Regions from separate parts of the Homo sapiens genome. Here regions 1 and 3 are each linked to region 2. Evidence: promoter capture Hi-C in human tissues and cell types (Jung and others, 2019). All regions are on one chromosome and are shown on one strand. The core of a region is centred on a gene start or on the middle of the fragment in contact, and the rest is flanking DNA. Distances in the headings are between cores, read along the strand shown.

What was found. Contacts are between HindIII fragments. The study calls those that stand out against the background at their distance.
Region 1: a contact is called between a fragment that was not itself captured here and the fragment with the promoter of APOL2 in region 2, in 1 of the 25 tissues and cell types used here (dorsolateral prefrontal cortex).
Region 3: a fragment that was not itself captured here is called in contact with the fragment with the promoter of APOL2 in region 2 in 1 of the 25 tissues and cell types used here (H1 embryonic stem cells).

What each region holds. Positions count from the first base shown.
Region 1 is chr22:35,464,337-35,468,005 of GRCh38, forward strand. No RefSeq gene overlaps it. Among named protein-coding and RNA genes, the nearest start is that of MCM5, 66 kb to the left of the region's middle. The HindIII fragment of the contact is 6,473 bases long and covers 1-3,669 here.
Region 2 is chr22:36,237,692-36,240,982 of GRCh38, forward strand. It overlaps APOL2 (apolipoprotein L2), which reads right to left and starts at 1,836. Exons shown (of 5, transcript NM_030882.4): 1 at 1,750-1,836. RefSeq lists enhancers at 763-1,277, 1,815-2,064, 2,075-2,124. The HindIII fragment of the contact is 12,319 bases long and covers 1-3,291 here.
Region 3 is chr22:35,628,998-35,632,685 of GRCh38, forward strand. LOC284912 (a long non-coding RNA gene) reads right to left here. Exons shown (of 4, transcript XR_001755514.1): 3 at 2,417-2,496. Among named protein-coding and RNA genes, the nearest start is that of MB, 14 kb to the left of the region's middle. The HindIII fragment of the contact is 7,418 bases long and covers 1-3,688 here.

The sequences.
Region 1 (3,669 bases), core at 340-2,839, 770 kb before region 2:
TCAAGTTGACAAGACAAGAGCAGCTGCCCCATGTGTGGCAGGAAGCTATTGCTGAGACCTGGAAGTTGAGTGATCATTATTTTGGATTCTGGCAGTAGGGAGACCATATTGTTTTGTATTTTGTTCCCACCCTCACACAGTAATGATGATGCCAGTGAGGACAACACTGGTTAACACTTCTGCGGGGGAGGTTTGCCCTGTACCAGGTGCAGTTATGTGCCCTGGATACCTATGACTAATTAGAGGTAGGGCTGCTGCCAGCATCCCTTAAACAGGTGTGGCCCCTGGAGGCACAGGGCTGTGAAGTAACTTCCTAAACTCACTCAGCTGTGGCAAAACCAAGCGAGGCCCTTGTAGCTGGGGTTACACTGGAGAGTCACACTCTTCCACGGACTGCCTCAACTACTCCACTCTGCCAACTCAACTATTAGCAGAATGGTGCCTGGGGTAACAGTGGACCACCAAGGACAGTAAAAGTCTCCAAGCACACTCTTTAGGCAGTGGCATGAGGTAGTGGCAGCTTGCCCTCTTCAGGGGGATAAGAGGATAGTGGCTGAGAGTGGTATCCTGGAGCCAGTCTCCTGGGTTTGAGTCCCAACTCTGCCTTTTACTACCGTGTGACTTTGGGCAACTTACCCTCTCTGTGTGTCATTTTTCTCATCTATAAAATAAGACCACTCACAGTGTTTCCGTCAAGGTTGATGTGAAGATTAATGGGATAATGGCGGTCAGGAGCTTGGCCTCGGTCTTATTTCTGTATCAGCTGGGGGACTGTGGGCAGGTACTCAGCCTTTCTAGACCCCACTTTCCTCTTATCTGGGATGAAAAGAAACCCAGCTGGGACCTCACACATGACAAAGGCTCAGTGAGGTGGAGAGTCCCAAGCAGATGAGAGGGATGTCTGGTTGCAGGGCAAAGGGACTGGGTCCTAGGAGTATTTGGATGCGTGGCTGGGTTGGATGAGGCAATCGACAGTGGACAGGCTGTCCTGGGAAGCCTGCTCCCCAGCTGCCTGGGGTGAATGCCAGGGCCTGCAGCTTTCACAGGGGCCGTGGCTGGGGCCAGCATCCGTGCATTCTGGGGCCTGGTCTTGCTGCCTCTTTGAACACTGGCTTCAGGTGTTCAAATTCCTATGGTTCAGTGTCCTCCCTGCGGTCCTGAGTAGCACTGCAGGGCTGTGGCCAGGAGCCCAGGGCTGGTGTTTGACCTTCTGGGCCTATGAGTGCCGAGGTGGCCAGGGCTCCTCTCGGCCTCCTCAGTGTGTTAGGTCTTTCTCCTTTTATTTTTATTTATTTATTTGAGACAAGGTCTTGCTCTGTTGCCCAGGGTAGAGTGCAGTGGGACCATCGTAGCTCACTGCGACCTTGAACTCCTGGGCTCAAGTGATCCTAGGACTACAGATTCCAGTAGCTGGGCCTACAGACATGTGCCACCACATCTGGCTAGTTTTTTTGTTTGTTTGTTTTTGAGATGGAGTCTCGCTCTGATGTCCAGGCTGGAGTGCAGTGGCGCGATCTCAGCTCACTGCAACCTCCACCTCCCGGGTTCAAGTGATTCTTCTGCCTCAGCCTCCCAAGTAGCTGAGGATTACAGGCGCACACCACCATGCCAGGTTAATTTTTGTATTTTTTGTAGAGATGAGGTTTCACTGTGTTGGCCAGGCTGGTCTCAAACTCCCAACCTCAAGTGATCCATCCATCTCAGCCTCCCAAAGTCATGCCTGGCTAATTTAAAAATATATTTATTTTTATAGGGACAAGTTCTTGCTATGTTTCCCAGGCTGGTCTCAAACTTCTGGGCTCAAGTGATCCTCCTGCCTCGGCTTCCCAAAGTGCTGGGATTACAGGCATGAGCCATCCATCTGGCCGCTCTTTCTTTTTAAATTATTTATTGAAAAAAATTAAAAAATTTTTATGGGTACATAGTAGGTGTATATATTTACTGGGTAGATGAGATATCCATTACCTCAAGCATTTATCCTTTGTGTTACAAACAACCCAATTATACTGTTAGTTATTTTGAAATGTACAATTAAATTATTATTGGCTATAATTACCCTGCTGTGCTATCAAATACTAGATCTTATTCATTCCTTTTTTTCTGAGACAGGGTCTTGTTCTGTCACGTAGGCTGGAGTACAGTGCTGTGATCATGGCTCACTGCAGCCTTGACCTCCTGGGCCCAAGCAATCCTCCCACTTCAGCCTCCCAAGTAGCTGGGACTATAGGTGTGCACCACCATGTCCGGCTAATTTTGTTTATTTTTTACAGAGACAGGGTCTTACTATGTTTCCCAGGCTGGTGTTGAACTCCTGGGTTCACAAATTCCTCCTGCCTCAGCCTCCCAAAGTGTTGCTATTATAGGTGTGAGCCACCATGCCTGGCCTTATTCATTCTTTCTACTATATTTTTGGACCCATTAACCATCCCTACTTTCCCCTGCCCCCCAACTACCCTTCCCAGCGTATAACCATCATTCTACTCTCTATCTCCATGGTTCAATTGTTTTAATTTTTAGCTCCCACAAATAAGTGAGAACATGTGAAGTTCGTCTTTCTGTGCCCGGCTTGCTTCACTTAACATAATGACCTCCAGTTTCATCCATGTTGTTGCAAATGACAGGATTTCATTCTTTTTTTTTTTTTTTTTTTTTGAGACGGAGTCTCCCTCTGTCGCCAGGCTGGAGTGCAGTGGCACGATCTCGGCTCACTGCAACCTCCAACTCCCTGGTTCAAGCGACTCTCCTGCCTCAGCCTCCCAAGTAGCTGGGATTACAGGCGTGCGCCACCATGCCCAGCTAATTTTTGTATTTTTAGGAGAGACAGGGTTTCACCGTGTTGGCCAGGGTGGCCTCTATCTCCTGCCCTTGTGTTCTGCCCGCCTTGGCCTCCCAAAGTGCTAGGATTACAGGCGTGAGCCACTGTGCCCAGCCTTTTGCCCATTTTAAAACTGGGTTATTAGGATTTTTCCTATAGGGTTGTTTGAGTTCCTTATCTATTCGATTATTAATCCCTTGTCAGATGTATAGTTTGCAAATATTTTCTCCCCTTCTGTGGGCTGTCTCTTCGCCTTGCTGATTGTTTCCTTTGCTGTGCAGAAGCTTTTTAACTTGATGGGATCCCATTTGTCCATTTTTGCTTTGGTTGCCTGTGCTTGTGAGGTATTTTTCAAGAAATCCGCCCAGAACAACGTCCTGGAGAGTTTCCCCATCTCCTTTTTTTCAAGTCTTATGCTTATTTATATTTATAAATATGACTTTTAGGTTTTTTTGAGGTGTGATTTGCCTCTTTTCAGTGCACAGTTTTACAAGTTTTGAAAAACAAAGTCACGCAAACACTGCCACAATCAAGACACGGAGCAGTTCCATCACCCCCCCGAAATTCTCTAATCTCAGCCCCTCAGCATCCCTGGATGCCAGGCTTAAGAAGTGGACTTCCTTCCCCTGGCAGAAGGAGGGCAGGGTCGGGCTCCGCGTCTGGGGGCTGTAGGCAGGGCTGGGGCTGTGCCATCTGCCTGCTCCTTCCTTCTGGCTGAGAGCACTGGGAGGAGGAGCCTGCAGGCTGAGGACAGGCTGTGCTGGGAGCAGGAAGCAAAGATCCCAGGCCCCAGAGCAGCTTCTGACCTTTAGAGGCTGCCTTTGTCTTGGACAGCCAGCTCTCCAGCTGCCTGC
Region 2 (3,291 bases), core at 586-3,085:
TCAGCCGTGGCACTGCACCCTTCTGAGGAATCTTCAGTGAAAAGCCACGGTCAAGTTCAAACCCCATAGCAGGGCACACAGGCCCTCTGATGCTCTGGACCCCACCTTCCTCACCGCTCCCTGCCACCACAGTCACCTTAGGTCCAGGCACCCACTGACGCCCTGCTTCGGTGCCTCCTGGAGCCCATCTACTCCTCCCACTCCCATCCCCAGCCTCAGGCCTTCACTCAGCTGCTCCCTCGCCCTGGAATGTCCCCCCCACTGTCCCCACCATGTGCAAGTCACCTGTCCTCAGAGACCCACCCAAAGCTGCCTGGTCCATGCGGCGGCCCCCAACCCTCCCCAGGCTCCCTGAGCACTCTGCTTTCCAGAGGGAGCTCTACCTGTATGTGGCTCTTTGGGCCTCTGTCTCCCCTTTAGACTCTGAACATTCAATGGGGACACTGTTGTGTTCCCAGCTGCACCCCCTACGACTGACCTGGATGCCCTCCGCCCTCCCTGGCACAGCCTGGCTGAAATCCCAGGTGCAGGAGGCATTACTTGAACTAAAAGCAACCAGCCTCTGGATGACATGGCCCAGCTTCAGTTTCACTTTCAGTTGAGAAATTGAATTTAATTTTTCTTTCTATCTTGATGGGCATCTCTTTTTGGTGAAGAACAAATAAGACCATGACTCATATTTCACAGAAATTACCCCCCTGATTTCATGGACTTTTGGCAGCTCTATCAAGTTTTTTAGAGGGGAAAAATCTTAGGCTGGGAGGGGAGGTGACTTGCCCAGAGTCACACAGCTCTTGGAGGGCAGAGGGGAGGCCAACATCTGCCCTTGTGACTCTGATATTGAAGCAAAAATGGGTGATTTTAATAATCCAACAGTGTCCAGGTTTGATTCTGCTTCTACAAACACAGAGACCTAAGCTCTCACTCCTGTAGTTATACTCACAATTCCACAGTGTGGCTTTTGAATCTCATGATTGCAAAGCTGGCATCATGCCACAGGTACCATTCTGCAATGCGACCTTCTCACTCCCCTGTCTCAGCCATGTTTCCCATTAGGGACACAGCACAGCCTGTTTCTTCTCTATCAGCTCAGAGGTCTGAACAGAGGGACAGAGGTGAGGGCCAGAGACGTGAAGTCCTATGATCTGCCTGCTCAGCCTCCTGACACGGGACCCTGGCAAGTCATTCCCCTCCCAGGGCCTCAGTTTCCCCACAGGGCCTGGCACAAGTAGGTGCTCAGACTCAGGGTGAGTGAGACAACCTCTGAGTTCCTTGTGTCTCAAAAGAAATCTGTTGTTCCCATTGGGCTTCAGCAGCAGCACCCTGGGGCCAGCCTGGGTGTGGCCCGGCCACAAGGACATGCCGGGCTCCAGGTCACCTCCCCTCCTCCACCTTCTTTGATTCCTTCAAATTTCCCAAAGAGATGGGCACCCCCAACACCTACCTTTCTTCTGGGGTCAGCTGGCCGTGTCTGAGGGTGTCAGAACCAGAGCTGAGCCCGGGGAGCTTTGTGAACCCATCTAAGCTGTTTTCCCCACCTCTCTCTACAGTTTACCCGCCCAGCAGGAGGGAGGGAGCAATCAGACTCAAGCCTGGGTGCAAATCCCGGCTCTGCCACTGCTTTCCTGTCTGATCTGAACCAGCTACCTAACCTCTCTGAGCTTATCTACAAAAGCTGAATGATCCTTCCCTTATAGAGCTATTGCAAGAATAAGGACATGGGGGTAGATCACACTATCCCCAACTTACCAAGGGATCTTCCTCTGACAGAGACTGAGCAAGATCCAACTGTTCTGAGCTGTGTGGATCCCACGTCCAGCTGTGCATCTGTGTAATAACCAGACACGTCCTCCGGCCTCCCAGATATACCCTGGAATTCGAAAGGGAAAGTGAAAGTCACAACTTCCCAGCAGCTCATGACCAAGCACAGTAAACACGCTGCTCCCCAGCACCACCTGCAGTCCAGGCCCAGCCTCCTTGCTGCTGCACTTAGAGGAGCAGCCGCAGACCAGACATCCGGGTCCCTCTCATCCAACCCACCTGCCTCACATCCTCAGGATTCAAGGTCTGCTGTGTCAGCTGCCCATGTCTCAGGCAGTCAGAACCAGAGTTGAGCCTGGGGAGTTTTTTGAACCCATCTGAGCCGCTTGCCCCCCAACCCCCGCCCCGATCTCTGCAGTTTAAGGGCACAGCAGGTGGGGGAGAGAAGTCAGACTCAAGCCTCAGTGCAATTCCAGGCTCTGCCCCTGTTTTACTGTCTGATCTGAACTAGTTACCTAACCTTTCTGAGCTCAAGAAAGACCTGCCACTGACTGACCGTGGGGCTCTCCAGATTACTCCCCGTCCTTCCGTTCCCCCACATTCCTCAGATGCCTGCCTTACTCCCACACATGCCATCAGCATCAGCACAGTCCCCCACACATGCTGGGTGGATGCTTATTGCATATTTATTGTAATGCTTCTGAGGTTATGTTTTCTGTTATGTTTTTGATATAGAGTCTTGCTCTGTAGCCCAGGCTGGAGAGCAGTGGCACAATCATAGCTACTTCAAGTGGCACAATCAAGCCATCCTCCCATCTCAGCTTCCGAGTAGCTGGGATTACAGGTGCCTGCCACTACACCCAGCTAATTTTTTGTAATTTTAGTAGAGATGGGGTTTCACCATCTTGGCCAGGCTGGTCTTGAACTCCTGACCTCAAGTGATCCACCTGCCTTGGCCTCCCAAAGTGCTGGGATTACAGGTGTGAGCCACGGCGCCCAGCCCATTGTATCCTTCTTGTGACTTTGTGTCTTCATAGCTTAGCTCCTACTAATAAATGAGAACATACAATATTTGGTTTTCCATTCCTGAGTTACTTCACTCAGAATAATGGTGTCCAACTTCATCCAGATTGTTACGGATGCCATTATTCCCTTCCTTTTTACAGCTGAGTAATATTCCATGGCATATACATATATAGGGGTGTGTGTGTGTGTGTGTGTGTGTGTATATACACACACATTTTCTTCATCCACTTGTTGGCTGATGAGCATTTAGGTTGGTTCCATATTTTTTCGGTTGCAAATTATGCAGCTATAAACATGCATGTGCGAGTATCTTTTTTATATAATAACTTTTCTCCTCTGGGTAGATACCCGGTAGTGGGATTACTGGATCAAATGGTATTCTACTTTTAGTTTTTTAAGGAGTTGCCATACTGTTTTCCATAGTGGTTGTACTAGTTTACATTCCCACCACCAGTGTAAAAGTTTTCCCTTGTCACCATATTCACACCATTTTAGCTAGGCTGG
Region 3 (3,688 bases), core at 341-2,840, 610 kb before region 2:
CCCAGTCCAATGTAAGCTGAGAAGAGGGCTCTCCTGCACCCAGTGATTCAGGCACTCAGGCTCCCTCCCCAAGGACTTCCAAAACCCCCATCCCTCTGCATCCAGCAGGCAAACCGCTGGAGAAAGAAATGAGGGTGGGCTGGGCAAGGTGGCTCACGCCTGAAATCTCAGCACTTTGGGAGGCAGAGGTGGGTGGATCACTGGAAGCCAGGAGTTCGAGACCAACCTGGCCAACATGGTGAAATCCTGTCTCTACTACAAATACAAAAATAAGCCTGACATCATGGTGGGCGCCTGTAATCCCAGCTACTCGGGAGGCTGAGGCAGGAGAATCACCTGAACTCGGGAGGCGGAGGTTGCAGTGAGCCGAGGTCACGCCGCTGTACTCCAGCCTGGGCAACAAGAGTGAAACTCCATCTCCCAAAAAAAAAAAAAAAAAAAGGGTGGAGGATCTTGTAAGGGGTTTTAGGGGGTATGCCTGAAAGTGGTGCTCATTGCTTCTGCCCAAATTCCATCAGCCAGATCACAGCCACAGGCACCGCTTACTTGGAGGGAGTTGTGGGAATGAGGTCTCTCTGTGTGCCCAGGAGGAAATGAAACAGGGTTTGGTGACTGTACGGCATTGCCTGCCCAGTCATGGCCCAAGATAATAATAATAATCTAGTGGAAAGATGAGAAAGGGAAGCTGGGAATAAAATATTTATATAAAGAATGCACCCTAATATTCCACACAGCACATAATAGGTGCTCAATACTTTTTCAAGTGAGTGCTGTATCACCACTGATCAAATACACAGGCGCTGGGGCAGGTTCCAGGGGCTGGGGAGAGGGTTGATGGCACAATAGAGGCATGAAAGGTGGTAAGAGCAAAGTTAGAGAAGCAGGAATGCACGTGGAATGTTCAGAAAACCCAGAGAAGACCAGTTTGGCTGGGTCAGAAGTTTTGTGAAGAGGATGGGTCACGGAGGCAGTTGGAATGTAGGCTTGGAGGGCATGGGGAATGATTTTGAACTTGAAGAATGTTGGCGGCTCTCAGCAGGCCCTGAGGAGTGGCTGTGGTTGTGGGGTGGGGTGGGGGTTCCCAGGCATCCTGGATGAATCATCAGGGTCAGTTAAAATTAGTCACCACGACCCCGCAGGGGAAGCCAAAAGACAGTTGTGTGGCTTATGTGGTAGCTGGGATTTGCCTCGCTGGGGGATCTTTGGCCTTCTTAGTTTGGAGATGGGGGAGCAGAGGAGGGAGAGGAGAGGAGGAGGAAGAGGGGAGGAGGAGGAGGAAGAGGGGAGAAGGAGGAACAGGGGAGGAGGGAAGGAGGCGGAGGGGAAGGAGAAGAGGAGGGGGGGAGGAGGAGGAGGGGAGGAGGAGGGGAGGAGGAGGAGGAGGAGAAGGAGTCCCACTCCACCCTGCCCCCATGATGTGCGAGCACTAAGATGGCCTGGGACAGAACTGGATACGACACAGTTTGGGGAGCTCTTCTGAAGGCTAATAATGGTAAGTTCAAGTACACATAAATGTCTTTCTCTCTCAAGGAACAGTCCCAGGCTTAAAAGCCTTGTGGGGCTGCTCCACCAAGCAGCCCTGGTTCTTCCTGTGGCATTGCTCAGCCCCGACCCACACATCCACATTCCAGCCCCAGCCAGCAAGGAGGACTGGGAAGGGAGGGCACATCCCCTCCTAAGGGAAGGCCCACACTCAGCTCAGTCCTCACTGGCTGGAATGTGGTCACATGGTAAAGCCGGCTGCAAGGGAGGCTGGGAAGCCTCTTTAACTATGTGGCCATGGCACAGCTAAAACTTGGGGATCCTATCATTAAGGGAAGAAAGAGAGAAGGGAGACAGTGTATCTAAGCAGAGAAGCCTGAGCTTTTCCTGCTGGTTCCCCGTGGATTGAGGGTATCGTGCAGGGTCTGACATTCCCGGGTGCTCCGCTGAGGGGAGGTGGAGTTGTGGAGGTGGCTGGTGGTCCCTGGAAAACTGGGAATTGAGACAAAAGAGCTCTGAGCCCAAAGATTCAGCACGTAGACGCAAAAGGTCCTGGCCATGAACTTGACAGCACAAGACCACAGAAGGCCCGGTGGACCAGGTACACCTCAGCAGGCGTCCAGGTCCCCAGAACAAAACAGTCATCCTGGAGCAGAGAGCAGGGACCTGGGGACGCCCCAGCATCTGCACACCTGTCCAAGGGCCCATCTTCCCGCCTTTGCTCTCCTCCCATCTATCCAGCACCATGTTGGAGAGGAGTAGGTGTGGAGGTAGCCAAAGGAGGAAACTGAAATACTGAGTATATACCAGGAAGACTAAGATGCCATTGTTGGCTCATCTAAGTTGCCCCCTGACACGCTGCAGTGAGAGAAGCTTAAAAACAAGAGGCAGTGTCTTACAGTGGTCAAGGGTGTGGATTCCGGAGCTAGACTACCTGCATTTGAATCCTGGTTTCACTGCTTGCTGTGTGACCTTGAGAAAGTTACTTAATCCCTCCGTTCCTCCTTTCTCCATCTGTCAAATAGCAGTAATTAGAACCTGCCTCAGAGGGTGTTGTGAAATCTGAACTACTTATAATACTTAAAACTATACCTCGTACGGAGTAAGCACTCAATACACATGGGCTATTGGTCTCAATTATAGATAATAAAGAAAACACATTTTTAAAACATCTGCGTTGAAATGATTTAAAATTTTACCTGTTACATGATGAGTGAATAAGAGCTGTGAGGCCGGCGAGGGCAGGTACTGTATCTATCTTGCGTTGCCATTGCTCAGTTCAGGGCCAAGTTCATGACAATGCCAGCCTCACCACCACCACTTGGGGCGCCACACCCTAAGCACATACCACTGGCCTGTCTGGGTCCAGTAGCTTTGAGTCCTTTATAAGCAGTGGCTCATTTAGTCCTCATGACCATCTTAACTAGGAGGTACTTGGTAATAATTGCTGAATAAAGGAAATGCCTTCCACCCAGGACAGGTGAATAATGGATGGAAAAGTGCTTTGTAAACTGTAAAGCAGGCTACTTGTGAGGATGCAAACACTTAGGACCCCTTCCCCAAGGGCCTAGGATTCTGTTCTACTTTCGGCTTGGCTGTTACCTTGGGAGGAATGCACCCTGTGTTCTAGAATTTTCCCTCCACATGTCCCTCTTTCAAAATGTAGCTGTCTTGGTGTTCGAGACCAGCCTGGCCAACATGATGAAACCCTGTCTCTACTAAAAATATAAAAATTAGTTGGGGGTGGGCCAGTCACGGTGGCTCATACCGTTAATCCCAGCACTTTGGGAAGCCAAGGCGGGTGGATCACCTGAGGTCAGGAGTTCGAGACCAGCCCAGCCAACTAAAGTAGAGACAGCCCGTCTCTACTAAAAATACAAAAAATTAACTGGGCGTGGTGGCGGCACCTGTAGTCCCAGCCACTCAGGAGGGTGAGGCAGGAGAATCACTTGAACCCAGGAGACAGAGGTTGCAGTGAGCTGAGATGGCGCCATTGCACTCCAGGCTGGGTGACAAGAGTGAAATCCATCTCAAAAAAAAAAAAAAAAAAAAAAATTAGCCAGCCTTGGTGATGCACACCTGTAATCCCAGCACTTTGGGAGGCCGAGGTGGGCGGATCACCTGAGGTCAGGAGTTTGAGACCAGCCTGGCCAACATAATGAAACCCTGTCTCTACTAAAAATACAAAAATTAGCCAGGCGTGGTG